2 separate regions of the Homo sapiens genome follow, and region 1 is linked to region 2. Evidence: promoter capture Hi-C in 16 types of primary human blood cells and fetal thymus (Javierre and others, 2016). All regions are on one chromosome and are shown on one strand. Each heading gives the region's core, a stretch centred on a gene start or on the middle of the fragment in contact. The rest is flanking DNA. Distances are from core to core; before and after follow the strand shown. Region 1 has its middle 3.9 kb from the start of KCNQ1DN. Region 2 holds the start of KCNQ1OT1 (KCNQ1 opposite strand/antisense transcript 1).

Region 1 (2,736 bases), core at 42-2,541, 170 kb before region 2:
ACACTTGGTGGACGGTCCCTGCATGTAGGGGACATCCCACGTTCACCTTGAAATCCTGACGGGTCAATATTTGCTGCTTCCTGGATCCTCCTGTGAGCCACTGATCCATTTTTGGGAGCTGAAATAGTAATCCAAGTGGAAATGCCTCACACGCACACGATAATGCACAGACACTGGGAGCCAGGCCAGCTGGGGAGCCCTGCCCGTGGTCTTAGCCACGCGGACTTACATTTGGGAATGCTACAACCTTCACTCCTATGGTCTGCGTGAACAAAAACCACTTATCCCCCTTCCCTTTGACACTGTCATCTGCCTGTGGCTACCTTCGGCATGATCCAATCCTTTGGGGGTGCCCCTGGCCAACCATTGGGTGGTACTGGGGTCTGTGGGCAGGGGTTCAAGTTAGAGGGTGGTTGCCTGGTGGCCCACATGCAGGAAACACACAGGGAGTTTGCATGGGCCCAGCTCATCCTTAGGCGACTGGAGCCCAGCTTGGAGCAGGTGGGGTGTTGGTTTAGGGTCTGCACTGGTGTTGTCTTTCTGATTGTCTCCAATTTGGGACTTCCTCCGTCTTGCTGGGGTCTGACTTCCCCTCACTGGTCCCTCTAAGGAGTGGGGCCTGTCTAGGGTGCAGAAGCCTCCCTGGGCCTCAATTTTCCCTCACTGAAAGGAGAACATAGGATCAGAGTCTCTGAGGGCCCATCTAGCTCGAATGTTCCTTGAGTGCTTGAGCGAAGCTTGCCCATGGTTTGAGATTTGTCCCAGAACCCCTTTTGGTTCCTTTAGACCCTTCTGCTCTAGCTGGGTGCTGATTCCATCCCTGTAGCCTGGCCTACATGCAGGCCTGGAAGACCTTAATTGGTCTGTCTGTGTAGGAGGGAGCCCCGGTCCCCACCGCCCAGTGCTCTGGGGGCTATTCACTTTAATGGTCATATAGTCACATGGGTTTTTATCATGCAACCTCAGCACTTCACTCTCAGTCCTGGGAAAAAGCACATGGTCTGGACAACAAGGCCTTACACCTGAGGGCTGTGGTGAAGCCGGAATTGCAGAGGGAGAAGTAAGGACACCTGAGACCTGGTGCTGGGTTTGACTATGTCCCCTCCAGAATTCGTGTCTGAAACTTACTGGCCAATGTGATAGTATTAATGTAAGTGGGAAGCTGGGCGCAGTAGCTCAAGCCTGTGATCTCAGCACTTTGGGAGGCTGAGGTGAGTGGATTGCTTGAGCCCAGGATTTTCAGACCAGCCTGGGCAATGTAGGGAGAACTTTTCTCTACAAAAAAAGAAATATTAGCCAGGTGTGGTGATGCGTGCTAGTCAGGAGGCTGAGATGGGAGGATCACTCAAGCCTGGGAGGTGGAGGTTGCAGTGAGCCATGACCGTGCCACTGTACCACAGCCTGGTTGACAGAGCCAGAGAGCCAGATCCTGTCAAAAAAAAAAAAAAAAAAAAAAAAAAAGGGCCAGGCACAGTGGCTCACGCCTGTAATCCTAGCACTTTGGGAGGTCGAAGTGGGCAGATCACCTGACGTCAGGAGTTTGAGACCAGCCTGGCCAACATGGTGAAACCCCATCTCTACTAAAAATACAAAAATTAACTGGGCATGGTGGTGGGCACCTGTTACCTAGGTACTTGGAAGTCTGAGGCAGGGAGAACTGCTTGAACCCAGGAGGTGGAGGTTGCAGTGAGCTGAGATGGTACGACTGTATTCCAGCCTGGGCAACAGAGCAAGACTGTGTCTCACAAAAAAAAAAAAAAAAAAAAAAAGAAGAGAGAAAGAAATAGGGCCTTTAGGAGGTATTTAAGCCTGAGGGTTCCTCCCTCTGAGTGAGATTAAAGCTTTTATAAAAGAGGCTTCCCAAAGCGTTCGCTTCACTTACAACACAGTGCCATCTTGGAAGCAGAGAGCCCTCACCAGACCCTGATTGCACTGGCACCTTGATCTTGGACTTCCCAGCCTCCAGAACGGTGAGAAATACATTTCTGTTATTTATAAATCACCCAGTCTCGTGGATCACCTGAGGTCAGGAGTTCAAGACCAGCCTGACCAACATGGAGAAACCCCATCTCTACTAAACCTAGAAAATTAGCCAGGCGCAGTGGCTCACACCTGTAATCCCAGCACTTTGGGAAGCCAAGGTGGGTGGATTACCTGAGGTCAGGAGTTCGAGACCAGCCTGACAAACATGGAGAAACCTCATCTCTACTAAAAATACAAAATTAGCCGGGTGTGGTGGCACATGCCTGTAATCCCAGCTAGTCAGGAGGCTGAGGCAGGAGAATCGCTTGAACCTGGGAGGCAGAGGTTGCAGTGAGCCAAGATCGTGCCATCACACTCCAATCTGGGCAGCAAGAGCAAAACCCCATCTCAAAAATAAATAAATAAATAAATAAATAAAAAATAGAAAATAAATCACCCAGTCTCAGGTATTTTGTTACTGTGGCACAAATGGACTGAGATACCTGGCATCTACCCTTGGAGGCTACCAGTAGGCCAAGGGCCAGCCAGGTGCCTCTGTGCAGGAGCCACGCTGCTCCCTGTTTCTCTTCCAGAGAGCACTGTATGGGGCTGACCCACCTCTGCAGCCAGGACAGACATGGCCTAGGTCCTGGTCCCTGTGGAGGAGTCTAGCTGTGGTTTTAAGGCAAAACTGGCCATGCGTGGTGGATCATGCCTGTAATCCCAGTACTTTGGGTGGCTCAGGCGGGCAGATCACCTGAGGTCAAGAGTTCG
Region 2 (2,928 bases), core at 226-2,725:
AAAAACTTCCCAGCTAGATAGTGAGGGTGGACTGCGCCCTCTGATCAGACACATGAACTCCCTGGGCCAGTGCGAAGGGACAGGCGCCCAGGGGATGTGTCACTTGTGCCCAGATTGCCTGTGGGCTGAGCAGGAGGCAGGGAGTGGACTCATCTGGGCGTCGTTGCTGAAGGCCTGAAAGGAATCACTTGCTGCCTGAAAAAATGACACCATTTTCTCTTTCTCTTCTGGGCTGAAGAACAACAAAACCCCCAACCCGGTCACCCTTGGAGAGAGATTCCTGGCTCTCCCGTAGACGTATATTTTCGGCAGAGGCAGTGAAGATGAATGGCCTCCTTGCGTGCCTTGGTGGGGGGACGGCTGGCTCGCTTGGCTGGCTCCAGCCTCCCCCTTCCTCCTGTGTTTGAGGTCAACCCTGGGTTGGGGTTGTAACAACTTTCGAGAACATACCCAGAGTCCTGCATTCCAACACTGTTTTTGCAGTCCACATGGAAGGGCCAAACGGCCCCCAGCCTTGCCAGGGAAGCCTCAGGGTGTGAACTTCTAGAGGGGGCTTTTGTGACCCAGGCTTTTGTCCCCGGAGTTTATGGCAATGCTTGGCATTCAGAAGGCGCGCGCCAGCGGCGCGGAGGGGACGGACAAGGGGAGGGGCCGGCAGACGCGGTCAAGTGTCACGCCCGGATGGGGGATGGGAGGTGGGCAGGGCGGGCCCGGCCGGGCGCTGGCAGGCGCGGGGCGCCCTCGGCGCTGCCCTTTGCCAGGTGGGTGGCCTGGCATGTCCCGGCCACCCCTGCCACTCACCCCCTGAGGTCCCAAGTCCTCAGGGGTGAGCGGCAGACACGGGTGTTCCAGGCACAGCAGTGGGGGCTTCAGAACATCCCGATCCCCTGCATGGACCCGCTGGGAGGGGGGAAAACGCCTCCCGCACCCGGTGCCACGGCGGTGGAGACCTTGCCCGGGTTCGAGGGTCGCTGCAGCGGCGCCGGCGGAGGGGCTGGTCTCGGGCGTGGCCTGGACGCCCACAGGCCTCCACACCGAGGGCCCACAGCAGTGTCGGGGTGCGGCCGCTGTCCTCACGCGGTCACCCCGGGGTGGTGAACACATCACGCAGAGAACTGGCCCGTGTCTCCAGCTCACCCCGGCGATGCCAACGCTGAGGCTGGCGCTGGCCCCGGCCCCCGGTGGTGCTCAGGGACGACGGGTGGGGGCAGGGAGGGCGGCGGCTCGCGCCACCTCACACCCAGCCAGTGCCTCATGCGGCGCTGGACCCGCTGGGCCAATCTGAGCCCGGGTGGCATCAAAACGAGACTCTTTCGGCCAATGACAGGACACGGCACATCACTTTCCGCACCCAGCCAATCCGTGCAGCAGCCCGCCGCAAGCCTTCCCCTGCTGCCGCCCAATCAGCAGGTGGGGGGCGGTCGCCACGTCGGCAGCGGCGGGGGCAGTCGGAGCGCTGCCGCAGTCTCCAGGCAGAACGGTCGCCGCGTCGCCTCAGCACGGACCTCCAGGGAGCTCCTCAGCAAGATCCTGCCAGGGCGCCCCTCAGCGCGATTCTGCCGGGGTGCCTCTCAGCGTGGTCCTCCCCGGGGCTCCTCAGCACGATTCTCCCGGTGCGCCCCTCAGCGCGGTCCTCCTCGGTGCGTCAGTCATCGTGGTTCTCCCCGGCGCGCCCCTCGGCGCGGTTCTCCTCGGGGCTCCTCAGCGCGGCGCTCTTCTGGGGGCTCCTCGGCGCAGTTCTCCCCGGGGACTCCTCGGCGCCGTTCTCCTCGGGGCACCCGGGGCTTTTCGGCGCGGTTCTCCCCGGGGGTTCTTCGGCGCGGTTGTCCCCGGGGGTTCTTCGGCGCGGTTCTCTCCGGGGGCCTCTCGCCGCGGTTCTGTTCTCCCCGGGGGCTCCTCAGCATGGTTCTCCTCCGCGCGGTCCTCCCTGGGCCTCCTCAGCGCGGCACTCTCCTGGGGGCTCCTCAGCGCGGCACTCTCCCCGGGGGCTCCTCAGCGCGGCACTCTCCCGGCGGCTCCTCAGTGCGGTTCTCCCAGACTCTCCTCAGCGCGGCCCTCCCCATCTCTCTGGGAGGGTTTGAACACGGTCAGCACGGACCTGGGCGGACGGCGCGGGACGGGTGATCACTGGCGTTGCTGAGGTGAGCTGTGTGCCCCGCGGCCGTCCCAGATCACAGGCGTCAGCAGTGCAGCCTGGCCTGGGCAGTGCGCTCCCATCTGCACCTTATGGACAGCGTGGCCAGGGTCGAGGTCCGAGTTCCTGGCCGCGTCCCAAGGATCGGATTCCGGGTCTATAGTTCTCATGGTGGTTCAGAGTGGGCTGAATTGGGATTGGAGTCTGGAATCCGCATCGTGGTTCTGAGTCCGCGCTATTGGGATGGAAGTTGGGAATCCATGTTGTGGTTTTGAGTCAAAGCCCGAATTGGGACCGGAGTCGGAAATCCACTTAGTGGTTCTGAGTCAGGGCCCGAATTAGGATCGGAGGTGGGAATCCCCGTTGTGGTTCTGAGTTAGGTATCCTAGTTGGGATCAGAATTCGGGTCTAGGGTCCACATCCTGGCTGGGAGTTTGCCTGAGTTGGGATCTGAGTAGTTGGGGTCCCAGTCAGTCCGGGTCTGGAGTCCGCATGGTGGTTTTAGGTAGGGCCTCATTAGGGACAGAGGATCGGGAGTCTGAGTTGGGGACCTGAATCCCGGTCTGGAGTCTGCATCATGGCTCTGAGTTGAGATCCAAGGGAGGTCCGAGTTGGCGACTGGAGTCAGGGTCTGGAGTCTGTCTTTGGGTAGAGGTTCTGAATGGGGGGCTCTGAGTTAAGAGATTGGGATTGGGGTTAGAGGTCTCAGTGGGGTATGGGAGTCAGGAATTGAAGTCGAAGTTCTGCCTCTAGGTGGGGATTCTGAGTCAGGAATTAGGGGGCGAAGTAAAGGT

Evidence for each region. Contacts are between HindIII fragments. The CHiCAGO score rates a contact against its expected background, and 5 or more counts as called.
Region 1: a contact is called between a fragment that was not itself captured here and the fragment with the promoter of KCNQ1OT1 in region 2, in 3 of 17 cell types (M1 macrophages, M2 macrophages and erythroblasts). The highest score is 6.1, in M1 macrophages.

Annotation. Positions count from the first base shown.
Region 1 is chr11:2,872,566-2,875,301 of GRCh38, reverse strand. No RefSeq gene overlaps it. Among named protein-coding and RNA genes, the nearest start is that of KCNQ1DN, 3.9 kb to the right of the region's middle. The HindIII fragment of the contact is 1,104 bases long and covers 740-1,843 here.
Region 2 is chr11:2,698,541-2,701,468 of GRCh38, reverse strand. KCNQ1OT1 (KCNQ1 opposite strand/antisense transcript 1) reads left to right here and starts at 1,475. Exons shown (of 1, transcript NR_002728.4): 1 at 1,475-2,928. The region is part of intron 11 of KCNQ1 (potassium voltage-gated channel subfamily Q member 1); the gene reads right to left. RefSeq lists silencers at 992-1,061, 1,072-1,341 and an enhancer at 35-1,274. The HindIII fragment of the contact is 24,274 bases long and covers 1-2,928 here.